Linked DNA regions of Homo sapiens: regions 1 and 3 are each linked to region 2. Evidence: promoter capture Hi-C in 16 types of primary human blood cells and fetal thymus (Javierre and others, 2016). All regions are on one chromosome and are shown on one strand. Each heading gives the region's core, a stretch centred on a gene start or on the middle of the fragment in contact. The rest is flanking DNA. Distances are from core to core; before and after follow the strand shown. Region 1 overlaps METAP1D (methionyl aminopeptidase type 1D, mitochondrial). Region 2 holds the start of LINC01124 (long intergenic non-protein coding RNA 1124). Region 3 holds the start of DLX1 (distal-less homeobox 1).

The links. Contacts are between HindIII fragments. The CHiCAGO score rates a contact against its expected background, and 5 or more counts as called.
Region 1: a contact is called between a fragment that was not itself captured here and the fragment with the promoter of LINC01124 in region 2, in 1 of 17 cell types (total B cells). The highest score is 7.0, in total B cells.
Region 3: a fragment that was not itself captured here is called in contact with the fragment with the promoter of LINC01124 in region 2 in 2 of 17 cell types (naive B cells and total B cells); the score reaches 11.7 in naive B cells.

Annotation. Positions count from the first base shown.
Region 1 is chr2:172,069,205-172,073,492 of GRCh38, forward strand. It overlaps METAP1D (methionyl aminopeptidase type 1D, mitochondrial), which reads left to right. Exons shown (of 10, transcript NM_199227.3): 6 at 1,703-1,866. Among named protein-coding and RNA genes, the nearest start is that of DLX1, 14 kb to the right of the region's middle. RefSeq lists an enhancer at 2,587-4,288. The HindIII fragment of the contact is 1,811 bases long and covers 1,023-2,833 here.
Region 2 is chr2:170,712,560-170,716,616 of GRCh38, forward strand. It overlaps LINC01124 (long intergenic non-protein coding RNA 1124), which reads right to left and starts at 2,008. Exons shown (of 1, transcript NR_027433.1): 1 at 1-2,008. It overlaps SP5 (Sp5 transcription factor), which reads left to right and starts at 2,778. Exons shown (of 2, transcript NM_001003845.3): 1 at 2,778-3,004; 2 at 3,700-4,057. The coding sequence starts at 2,954. The region is part of intron 5 of ERICH2-DT (ERICH2 divergent transcript); the gene reads right to left. RefSeq lists a silencer at 2,095-2,144 and enhancers at 2,362-3,151, 3,152-3,939, 3,940-4,057. The HindIII fragment of the contact is 7,273 bases long and covers 1-4,057 here.
Region 3 is chr2:172,084,902-172,089,191 of GRCh38, forward strand. DLX1 (distal-less homeobox 1) reads left to right here and starts at 606. Exons shown (of 3, transcript NM_178120.5): 1 at 606-1,089; 2 at 1,753-1,952; 3 at 3,102-4,290. The coding sequence starts at 777. The coding sequence ends at 3,356. RefSeq lists enhancers at 1-251, 252-865, 866-1,477, 2,092-2,703, 3,317-3,928 and 1 more and a silencer at 325-434. The HindIII fragment of the contact is 3,945 bases long and covers 580-4,290 here.

The sequences.
Region 1 (4,288 bases), core at 678-3,177, 1.4 Mb after region 2:
CCAGCCTCAAGTAATCATTTTCAAAGCTAGGAAAAAGTAATATGAAAAGATGAATAAAGATTTTTTAAAATAGTACATTTTTACTTAAAAAGCAGTTATATAAACATTCATTTATACATTTTCTTGACTACGCCTATATTAGCAAATTTTATATTCTTGTATTTTGAATGAAATCGTATTTTGTATTTTGAAATAGTATTCTTGTATTTTGAATGAAATATAAGAATATAAAAATTTGAATTTTTGAACGAAATCAGCATAGTCTTCCCTACTGTTTCCAATGTGTCCAAAGAGAATACTCTATTCCTTTTCTAAGTTTCCTGAAGACTTTTAATAGTTTCATTATTAACATTCAAACTATTTCAAAATTGTAAAACCTATGAAGCAAAGTGAAATACTGCCAAGTGTATAAAATAAAAACTCATACTTTCCTGGATTGCAAAGGACTGTAAGTGGGAGTAAATGTATAAAACACTATTCTGTTGCAAGGTAATTAAGATAATTTGATATAGTAGAGAAAACACTCGATTAGAAGCCAATAATCCATCATATTAACCTGAATCTACCTCTATATTCTGCCACCAACCTTAAACAAGTTACTTATCTGTGCCTCAGTTTCCTGAATTATAAACTGAAGATCTAATAAAGACCTTTCTTGCTTCCTTCACAGAATATGAGAGCATTTTTTAAGAAATGCAGAGTAGTATACAGATTTAAGACATTAATTCAGTATCACAACAGACTGAAAGCTCATATAAACATCTTTTTTATAACAGTTTCTACATTCTACCTTATGAGCAAGAGAAATGTGAAAAATAATTAGATAGGACAAATTTATGCAAAGTAGCAAATTCCATGCTACATCAAAGGATCAGTATCCAAACAGTTGCCTCTGCCTTTTATATTTACTATAGTGCTTGGTTATCAATGATTTATAATGAATCTGGTATCTTTCAAGATCCTACTTGGCTTCTGAATCACTGAAGACTGATAAAATTATACTTTCTGTAATTGTGCTTTTAAGCTTGTTTTATTATATTCTAATTCTTTAGATATCCATATATAGTGCTTTCTGTTAACGTTCGGCTGTCTGGAACATTTGATTAAGATTTCACTTCTAGACATAGGATTTTTCTGTAACACATTTCATTCCTATATGGAACCACTTCAATTCTTAGAACTGAATTCTCCTATTTGTTTGTTAGAATACAGACATGTCTATCTTACTTCTTCTTGTCATTATATATCACTTCAAATGTAGAACTGGTAAATACAAAATCAAGTAAGTCTTCATGACATTGAAGAAACTTTTCACTATGTTAAATACTTTTTGGTTCTCTAAACCTGTTGTGGTAATTGTAGATCAAGGTCTTTGGCTACTAATTTTTGCTTATATAATTTTGTCTTCTCAGAAATAAAGTGAGGAATCAAAATATTACAGTAGTATTGTTCATCATAATGCTGAAATAACCATACTAGTTAACATAGTTGTTTTTAAATTTTGCAATATCATTGCATGGCTTCATCTTTTAAATTTCTGCAAGGTTTCAATATATCTATTTCTTCTTTTTTTGATAGGCAAATGAATAATTCTGGAAGGGTAAAACATGAGTCTACTAAATACATAAATGAATACAATGTATACTTTAGGAAAGTAGATTTTTAAACAAGGACATATTTTTAAATTTCTGCTTATGTTTAGGTCTATTACAATGGCTACCATGGAGACACCTCTGAAACATTTTTGGTGGGCAATGTGGACGAATGTGGTAAAAAGTTAGTGGAGGTTGCCAGGAGGTGTAGAGATGAAGCAATTGCAGCTTGCAGAGCAGGGGCTCCCTTCTCTGTAATTGGAAACACAATCAGGTAAGCCTTACATTGACAAGTAAAGGGAGGGTTGGCAAATGGTACAAAGGTTATTGGTGGCTTGGTATAAAGTTGATGACATGTTTTATGATTCAGAACCATCATTTCAGTCTGATATCAGTATGTGAACTGCCAGGCTGCAATATTGTTCCCTGAGTTGAAAAAAAAAAAAGATTTTATAAAAATGAATTATACCAGGGTCAGCAAAGAAACTTATAGAAGGAGCAAGCAATATTTACATGGCTGCTTTTGTTTTAGCTTGACATACTGGTCTATAGTTTCCCTTTATTCAAAATCACACCAAATATGGAAGGGAGTACCTAAGAAGGGGATGAGCATCTCAACCCTGGGGTTTTTAATAAGACAGGAGAAAAACTAAATTTTATAAAGGAATGAAGTGAAATGTATTTCTGTGATATGAAGATAATAAAGTGTTAGTTCAAGCAAGCCTTACCTTTCAAATTGGTAGATTAACAAATAGCCTGAAACGGTGATCTTCTGTTCTTTTTTTGTCTGGTTCATTTTTCCTGTAAACCGTTGTTTATTTTTCACAGAGTATTCTATCCTTACTTTTTGAATGTATGTGTATGTGTGTTTTCTGAATTTAAGACTTTTCTTTATAATCTGTTACCTACTTTTAGGTCTTTTTTCCCCCATAACTGTTTTGAAGTAGACATGCCGAATATATGTTTTCATTTTAAAGTAATGCATTCTGTTAAAGATGATCACATCAGTGCCCTTTAAAGTACTGTTCTCATTAATATGAACCATTGAATACTTCCCATTTGTCTAAAGGATGGAAGGCTTAGTCACCTTGAAAAGATGCTGCCTTTTTTTCTTCGTAAGCCTTCAAATACTTTAAGAAAAAAGCCAGTAAAATATCAGTTAAATGTATTTATGGCTTTAAAAATATTGTAACAGTGTCTGAATCAAACTTTAGTAAAATCTCTTTGGGTTATATCTGAGAAGCTTTTATTGAAGACTTTGAACAAAATTGTGTTTTTGACAGTTTTAAATTATAGGCTAACTAGCCTGGGAAAAAAGGATAGTGTCTCTCTGTTCTTTCATAGGAAATGTTGAATCAGACCCCTACTGGGAAAAGAAATTTAATGCATATCTCACTATCTTACTGTCCATGAATATAATAGAAATGAATTCAAAATGCAGTTTTATTTTTGCAAATGGGATGAGTCGATAGATGCACCTCATATTTTTGAACACCTAGGGTTCAACAAATTTACTGGTGGTGCTCTTGCATTTTAACAAAATTTATTCTTCAGTAGAAGGGGGCAGAGAACACTAGATTCTTATTCAAGCATTCTATCGAGCTCTGCATTCATGGCTGTGTCTAAAGGGCATGTCAGCCTTTGATTCTCTCTGAGAGGTAATTATCCTTTTCCTGTCACGGAACAACAAATGATAGCTAACTACAGAGGCACATTTGCAGTAGTCACATTCATCAACTGCAGAAAAAAAAATTCAATTTAATTGTGCAACACAGCTGCACATGGGCTTTTGAGCATTTCTGTTGTTCTCCCTGTCTCGCTATTCCTCCCTCCAGATCTATTTTTTAAACTTTTTTTCTGGTTATTTTTTCCCCTTTTTGTCTCTTCTTCCATTTTTACTCTCTGTACTTTCTTGTTAAAGTAATTTTCCTTTGTGGCTCTCATTCTTTTTCCCCCATTGAAGGCTATGAATGTAGAAAATTATCACAATTACTCATATAATTGAGCCTCTTTGTAGCAAGTGCAACTCCAGTAGCCTTTCTCCATCATGAAAATGGTTTCATTATAGGGTTTTTCATATTCTCTGACACCATCTACACAGAGGAACAGGCGTGCAGATGAGATGTGCTAGGAACAGGCTAGATCAGTAAGGTCACAGTAGGAATAATTAGCTCTGCTATGGAAAGAGCATCTAGGCCTTTTACTGCTACATAAATGTACTGTCCATGGCTTTTAGTCACAAAAAAAACTTACTAACAAATGGAGCTCCCGCCTACTACTTTGAAAAAAAGATTTGTATCAACACTACAATTTTCCATCATTAAGACTAATAACACAGAGCCTAGTATACATCAAGGGGAATAAAAAGAAAAATCTCACATTCAAGTGGCGGCTGGGTGCTGACCTTTGTTCCCTTTTTTTGTGTACGACTTAACTCTTTACAAAAAAGAGCCACACGCCACACCAACATGCAGGTGAACTCCAGCTAGTACTAGCAAAGCATAGCATTCAGTTGGAAAATTTGATAAATCTCCATGCAGGATAATGCATTTCATTACATATTCACTACATTAATTCTAGCTACATTAAAAAAAAAAGAAGAAGAAGAAGAAGAGTAGAATTGAAAGTGACATTGGATTTTAGCTATCTGGATACAAAGGTCAGTTTTCACAGAGTATGAATTTGCATGTACAAGC
Region 2 (4,057 bases), core at 758-3,257:
AGCCTCTCTCCAAACTTCAGCTGGGGCCTGGGAGGACCGGAATCTGGACGGGTTTTCACAAACGGAGATGAGGCCGAGAGCAGCCAACTGCGACCACTCAAGAGAGGGCCTTCTGTACGCTCAGCACCGTCCTAAAGACCTTGCGTATATTAACTCTTAAACCTATAGCCACTCTACAAGGGGTGCACTATTGTAACTCCCATTTTACAAACCGCAAAACTGAGGTACACAGCGGCTGAGTACCTTGCTTGCCAAGGTCACCAACTAGAAAGTGGCAAGGCGGGAAAAATGTCTTCAGAGAGTTCGGACTCCGAGCTTTCAACCACCAAGCCACTAACTTTGACCCTGTTGGCCCACTGATGGTTTAACTGGCTAATGGGGGCATCTTGGAGAAAAAGCTAATTCCCATAACTATGGGGATGTGAAATGGCTTTTCTGGCCTTTTTGGGAAAGTAGCTATCAGATTCAATAAAAAGGGCTGCCTTCCATCCTGCTTAGCCCGGCCCTGCCCGCCTCCCTGGGAAAGGGGACTTCGAAGATCTCAAAGAAGCTGGAAAGGAAACCAGCGCTAAGGAACCAGATCGCTTCGAGGGTGCAAGCATGTGCAGGCGCGAGTGTGTGCCAAGGGGCTCCCTGGCCTCCGACTTGCATCCAGGGAAGAGCTCCCTCGAGTCTCACGCTTCTCCAAGACTCAAATCCTGGACGGGAGCGTGGGAAGGAGCAGGTTGGCCAGGCCTCGGATGAAACCACTAAGCTCTCTCCCCTTCTCCGCTCCCAGAGCAGCCGACCTCATCTTCAGAAGCCAGATCGGGTCGGCCAAGTTGTGTGGTCGCCGCTCGCGTTTTAGAGGGGACAACTCGTTGGGGGAGAAGGGGGCGTGCGAGTGCAGGATGTGCGAGGGACCCATTGTATTTGGGTCGCAAGCAGCCCACCCGTCTTGAGTACGATATTCTCATTCCGCAGGCGCGCCCTGGGCGTGGGAGAAGGTGGGCCCGGAGGCATCGCATCCCCGACCCCTGATGGAAGTGCGGAGGGCATCCTTATACAGTCCAGATTCCGAGTCCGTTGTAGTTAGGCTAACCTCTGACGCTGCATCGGGAGATAGGTCACCCCGTCCGTCCCGGTCGCAGTGCGGTTCCCGTGAGGAAGACGGGCAGAGAGGCCGGGCGCGAACTGATTAGGGGCTCCCCCACGGCCGGCGGCCTGGAGAGTGGAGACTGTGTCCGACGGGAGGTGGGTGGGGGAGAGGAGTAGGCCGAGCTCCGGCGGCCACTCCGCAGTGCGCTCTCGCGAGCCGGGGCCGCGAGGCCTCCAACGCGGTTCCGCACCCCTAATGCCCCAGGGCGGTGAGCACCCCGCGGTTCCCCGCCCGCCTCTTCCTCCTTCCCCGCCCGCGCGCCCGGGAGAGGCGATCCCCGCGTCCGCAGTGCCGGGGCAGGACGCGCCCTGCGCCCTGGGCCAGGAGGAGGCAGGTGGCCCTCCTCGGCAGGAGGTGAGCCGCCAGGGAGGGATGGGGGTCACCCAAGCCCCTGCAAGCGCGACCCTGCCCAGAGCAAAGCACGCCCCGCGCCTGGTGAGGAACTTTTTCTTTCCAAAGGTGGCAGGAACAAGTCTGTACTGACTTTTCTCCCGCCTTCGGGATCCTCTCTCGTATGATTTGTGGTTTGTGGGACCACAACAACCAGGCTTCCTCGACCGCGCCTTTTTTCCAGTAGCTCCTGGTCTGCCAGGCTTGCGAGAGGGCGCGCTGGCTTGGCGGGGCTCCGGGCGAGAAATCACCAGCAGCGCTGGGGCTTTCGGCCCCCCACAGCCCAGCCCGGGCCTCCTGGGTGGCCTGGGGAGAAGGGGGCGGGACAGCACAGCTTCTTCCCCTCGGGTGGGCATGACGGGTCGCCTTGGGTGTCCTGCCGAGCTCAGCTTTGAGGGTATGCGCGGCGCGGGTGTTTTTCCCAGGTCCACTCTGCAAAAGTTGTGGCCTGAGGAAAACTTCCAGGTCGCCAGCAGGAACGTCACAGGAGAGCCCCGGTCGCTCGTCAGGCGGGCGGCCCTGGAGCGTGCGCGCCACCCAACGCCGCGCTGGGCGGCCGCCCGGCCCCGCCCCAGGTCACAGCCCTGCCCTCGGCCCCACCGCGGCGGGCGGGGGACACGCGGCGGGCCGGGCGCTGTCGGTCCCACGCCCCACCGGGGATCTCGCTTGGGTCCGCTGTGTGCGCGGGCGGGTGCGTGTGCGGCGAGGGTGCAGGGTGTGCAAGTAAATACAGGGGAGAGTTACACTCTTTGCCGTCTCAAAGTCCGGCGCCTGGAAGCCGAAGGCAGATTTTTCCAGAGATAACAAAGACACTTTGTCACTTTGGGCGCTGCGTCGGTGCAAATCTTTAATTGCAAGTGTGTGTGTGTGTGTGTGTGTGTATGTTGGGGGGGGCGGGAAGAGTGTCTCGAGCAACCCAAGCGCGGGTCTCCAGGCGGCAAGGCCCCCTTTGATCAGGAAAATCCAATTATTTGTGTATATACATTTCCCACATAGTGATTACTTCATTAATTGTCCCGCCTTTATCTCCTCCCTTCCCATCCCCCCTAATAATCAGTTCTTTTATCCAGACCAACAAACACACCATAGGAGCTTTGTGGATTCAAAGGATTTGCTTTCGCTTCTGAAAGAGCCGCTATTCTTTGATGATTGGGTAGCGGCAAACTTCAAAGCCATAAATCTTCCCTCTGACTGGCTGGCGGCCCAGCAAAGTCCTTATCAAATTCTTGGAGGTGATCCTGAAGCGCTCAGACCGCGCGCGGGGCGAGCGAGCGGGGCGCGGCGAGGGGCAAGGGCGGGGAGGGCCCCGGCGCTCAGAGCAGGCGCCAGGGAGGCAGGCTGGGCGGCCCTTCGTCCTCGCCTTCGGGTGTCCATGCCTCGGCGGCGGCGTCCCGCTCCGCAGCCAGGGGCCTGCAAGCCGTAGCCATGGCCGCGGTGGCCGTCCTCCGGAACGACTCGCTGCAGGCCTTTCTCCAGGTCAGGGCCGAGCCCGGAGGGGGCGGGAGAAAGGTGGAAAGGGCCGTGTCCGGATCTCTCCTGGTACTCCGTGCACCTTGAACCTCAAAGGGAACCCCGCCGATGGGTGCAGCTGGAGCCAGGCCTAGGGGTGCCCACGCCAACTTCACACCTAATCCGGTGTGGCCTTTGCTGGAGGGACGCGTGGATCCGGGATTGTTCGGAGGTGCCCGGCTGGCCGAGAACAGGACCGGAGCTCACCCTGCTGGGCCCTCCTGCTGATTTCAGCCTGGGGCGGGCCAGGGAGGAGCGCGAAGGCAGTGAGGACAAGAGAGCTTAAAAGATGGGAGGGAGAGCGGCCGGCCGGCGGGGTTGTGGGTGTTTCCCGACTCTTACTGACCACGGAGCCGGGAGGGGCCCGTCGGATGCCTCCCCCTCCCACTTCGCGCCTGCTTCCTCTAAGGCTGGATGGCGTCTCAGTGCACCAAGTAGTTTAGCAAGAAGCGCTCGCGGGCCCCACGTTCAGGTAGCGCAGGCACCAAAAGTTTCCCTCGGCCGGTGGGTGCGTGCGTGGGGTGCGGTGGCGGGGGAGGGACGGCCGGGACGGAGGAGGGGCGGCGGTATAATAGCGGGCGTGGGGGCGGCGGGCTGGCCCGGAGTCCGCGCTTGGAGCTAACCTTTTGTCTCTTCTCCGCCCTCCCTCGCCGCCTATGCAGGACCGCACCCCCAGCGCCTCCCCGGACCTGGGCAAGCACTCGCCCCTGGCATTGCTGGCCGCCACCTGTAGCCGCATCGGCCAGCCGGGCGCGGCGGCGCCCCCGGACTTCCTGCAGGTGCCCTACGACCCCGCGCTGGGCTCACCCTCCAGGCTCTTCCACCCGTGGACCGCCGACATGCCGGCGCACTCGCCAGGCGCACTGCCGCCCCCGCATCCCAGCTTGGGGCTGACGCCGCAGAAGACGCACCTGCAGCCGTCCTTCGGGGCTGCGCACGAGCTTCCCCTTACACCCCCCGCCGACCCCTCGTACCCCTACGAGTTCTCGCCGGTCAAGATGCTGCCCTCGAGCATGGCGG
Region 3 (4,290 bases), core at 1,302-3,801, 1.4 Mb after region 2:
GGCCCCTAAGCCCCGACTCCAGGGATGCGGCAGAGCGTACCGGGGAGGCGCGGCCGGATAGGCGCTGCGCTAGGCACAAGGCTCTTAGGAGAACCTCTGTCTGTTGGCCGCCTCGGGCGCCCCCAGTGCGCGACTCCGCGCTCCAGAGGCAGAGGTCAGTCTCCTCCTGAGCCGCCCTAGCTCTGCGCCGAACTGAGTGGCAGCGACGAGAAGCGGTCCCGGGTGTCCGGTGTTAGGGACCGCTGAAGGGTGGGGACAGTGGTAGGGGGGCGGCGGCGCGGAGCCGCTGGTTGGTTCCTGGGGAGGAAAGCGCGCGAGGGAGGCGGGAGGCCGATGAGCCGCGGGCCGCAGGGGCCCCGGCGCAGACGCCGCAGCCCATTGTGCTTCCTGCCCGGCGCGCTCTGTTGCAGAGGAGCCCCGGCCGGGAAGTGTGGATGCGTCTTACCCGAGGCCGGGCCGCCTCGCCCGCTCTAGTCCAGCGGAGCCCGAGCGCCTCGGACCAATCCCCAGTGATTATGCAAGACAGCGGACCAATCAGCTCCGCCAGCTCATGAATATTTATGACCTTCGCTGAGTCAAAGCTTTGAACCGAGTTTGGGGAGCTCAGCAGCATCATGCTTAGACTTTTCAAAGAGACAAACTCCATTTTCTTATGAATGGAAAGTGAAAACCCCTGTTCCGCTTAAATTGGGTTCCTTCCTGTCCTGAGAAACATAGAGACCCCCAAAAGGGAAGCAGAGGAGAGAAAGTCCCACACCCAGACCCCGCGAGAAGAGATGACCATGACCACCATGCCAGAAAGTCTCAACAGCCCCGTGTCGGGCAAGGCGGTGTTTATGGAGTTTGGGCCGCCCAACCAGCAAATGTCTCCTTCTCCCATGTCCCACGGGCACTACTCCATGCACTGTTTACACTCGGCGGGCCATTCGCAGCCCGACGGCGCCTACAGCTCAGCCTCGTCCTTCTCCCGACCGCTGGGCTACCCCTACGTCAACTCGGTCAGCAGCCACGCATCCAGCCCCTACATCAGTTCGGTGCAGTCCTACCCGGGCAGCGCCAGCCTCGCCCAGAGCCGCCTGGAGGACCCAGGTACGTGCGCTTGCCAGGGAGAGGGAGAGGAGGAGGTACAAGGGAGAGAGGGAAAGAAGGAGCGGGGGAGAAGAGGAGAGGGAGAGAGAGAGAAAGAGAAGAGAGGAGAGCGAGGTGGGGTGGGGGTGGGGAGGGCGCGGGAGCAGTGGAGGTTTCGAATATCAATCTATAGATCCTTGTCACAGCAAATAAATTTTTTTAAAAATTCCCTCAATTTGCAACTATCCAGCCAAGGATAAATCCCAGAGCGTCTCCTGGCACTGGCTGGGCCTCTGGGCGGCTCGGTGTGCAGAGCACACAATGCCCCGCTGGAAAACAGAAACCCACATGTGCACGTATTAGTCTCGGTAATTATTTATTGCGTAGCGCTATAAACAATGTATGCAATTAAGGGTAATTAAACCTCAACTACCGCCTGCAAAAATAGCAAACTTTCCCTGCAAAGGCAGGAGCTGAGCTCCTGGGAACGGCTCTATCCCTCCTGCAGCGTCCCGGGACAGGCCCTCGGATTTTGGGGGACCCTTCCCTGGCTTTCAGAGTTTCTTGAACGTTCTCTCCCTGGTGCTGCCTCCGCCACCCTTCGGTAGCCACTCGCTCTCGGCTGTTCGCACTAAAGGCGGCCCCTCGTATTAACAACGGGCCCTACTTCTGCTGTCCCTCCAGGGGCGGACTCGGAGAAGAGCACGGTGGTGGAAGGCGGTGAAGTGCGCTTCAATGGCAAGGGAAAAAAGATCCGTAAACCCAGGACGATTTATTCCAGTTTGCAGTTGCAGGCTTTGAACCGGAGGTTCCAGCAAACTCAGTACCTAGCTCTGCCGGAGAGGGCGGAGCTCGCGGCCTCTTTGGGACTCACACAGACTCAGGTACCTCGCCGCTGCCGCTCCGTTCTGCCACGCAGGCTTTCCGCGGCCGGCCTGCGCCCGGGTCTTCATTTGTTGCTCGCTGGGACTCAGGGTCGGGGTGTCACTGTGTGTATGTGTTTGTGTCCACCCCTGGCTCTCAGCGTGTCTCCTTCCTCCCTCATTCCCTCTGCCCTAGCTCTGTCACTGCTCTCGGTATCCCGAGCTGCCTGCCGTCCGGCCCTCTGTCCCTGGACAATCTGATTAGGGCGCAGGAAGGATTTCCCCAGACGATTTGTTTGGGAACTCAGAGGTCACACGTGCCTAAACAACTGGAACAATAGACTCCGGGCTTAATCCCTCCTTTGCCTTTAAATTGTGTGACTAATCACTCGGGGCCTGGGTCCGCGCCTCAGCCTCCCTCCTCCTCCTCCTTCTTACCGGTTGGGGGTGGGGGGAGATCCTTTCCTCCGCCCTCTCACCTCTCAAGTCCCAGACCTTAGAGAAGAAACGGGACCTTCCTTCCCGGCTTTCTGTAAGACTCCGGGGAGCCCGTGAGCGTTCCTGACGGCGGCGGGCGCGGGTTTCCGACGTCCGGTCCGGGATTTGGAGCAGAGCTGGAGAAAGCAAACAGACACTAGTGCAAGAATGGTTTTGAATCCAAAGAGAAGTTCAGCAAAACCTTGAGGCCTCCTTAGTCCGTCCCAACTCAAGGGCAGAAAAGATGGCGCATAGAAAAGTTGGGTCGCGTTGCAAATAAATTTCCTCCACTCCTTCCTAGGTTTTCGATTCTTTTTATTGATGTTGATATTGGAATTGCTGGCTCGGTGTTATGCAGGCGCTGTATCTTCCGCAGGCGGTAGCCACGGTCGGACTGAGCCCCTGGCAGGCTAAGGCCTGGATCCCGGTTCTCCCCTCATCACAACTCCTCCCTGGCTCTCTGAGAGCTGCCCCCGTGGGCTGACGGCGGCGGGAGGTTCGGCCTTCGAGCCTTTGGCTCTTATGGGGGAAGGGAGGAAGGAGGGATGTCTCTGCTTCTCTGGCAGGGAGCTGCCAGCTGGCGCAGGGTTGGGAGGTCCTATCTCTGCTGTTCTGCGGTCCCTTTTTTCCTCCCTGTGACCTAGGTAGGCTCAGTGGTCCCAGCCTGAGTCACGTTGTTGTCCGCTCTTGCAGGTCAAGATCTGGTTCCAAAACAAGCGATCCAAGTTCAAGAAGCTGATGAAGCAGGGTGGGGCGGCTCTGGAGGGTAGTGCGTTGGCCAACGGTCGGGCCCTGTCTGCTGGCTCCCCACCCGTGCCGCCCGGCTGGAACCCTAACTCTTCATCCGGGAAGGGCTCAGGAGGAAACGCGGGCTCCTATATCCCCAGCTACACATCGTGGTACCCTTCAGCGCACCAAGAAGCTATGCAGCAACCCCAACTTATGTGAGGTTGCCCGCCCGTCTCCTTCTTGTCTCCCCGGCCCAGGTCCCTCCCGCCTCCAGGTCCATCCATCCCGTCCGGAAAAGAAGGACCCAGAGGGAAGAAGGAACAGTGGAGGCGGGACGCCCTCCATCTCCTCGGAGCCCCGCGAGGTCCGGCCCAGCAACTTCCCGGCATCCGCGCTCTAGCCTGAACCCTGGCCTGGGCCGAGCAGTGGCAGCAGAGAGTGGCCTCGGAGGGAAGCCACTGCCACCTGAGACAGCCCAAGCAGCAAGATAAACCCGCTCCACCCGACCCGCCGACCTTCAGCTTTGTGGGACTATCAGGAAAAAACAAAACAAAAACAAAATGTAGAAAAAGCAAAAGCTCTTTTCTGTCCTGTCAGTCTCCTGTCTCCTTTTGCTCTGTCTGTGCGCTGGTAAAGTCCAGGTCCTCATCCGTCCGCTGTCCTCATTCTGCGGCCTCAGCAAAAAGCCACAAGGTCTGAGCGGCCCGGGTCCTGCCGGGCTGACCATCTCCGGATCCTGGGACACTCTGCCTGACCATCTGTGTAGCTGGTGTGGGAATCTGGGGGCATTGGAGGGAGGGGGTTTTATTTATTGAGAAATGGACTTCGCCTGAGGCTGTTTGCCAATTCAGGGTTCTGCTGGGCGCAAGGAACGCACTGTTCAAACGCACTGTTTACTTTAAGCGCACGGGGAGAAACGAATAAGGAGGACGTGGTGATTTTTAATTTATACAGTAACTTTTGTACTTCTCTGGTATGGAGAGTTTGGAGCCGAATGATTTGCATTTTTTACATGTCCGACATTATTTAATAAATAATTTTTAAAAGAAAAGAACGATAAATGAAGCCAACATGATTTTCTCATTTCGGGAGGAACTCTGTTGCTTCGCCTGGACAAGAAGGAAAATGCTGATTTCCTCCTTGGGTAGAAAGA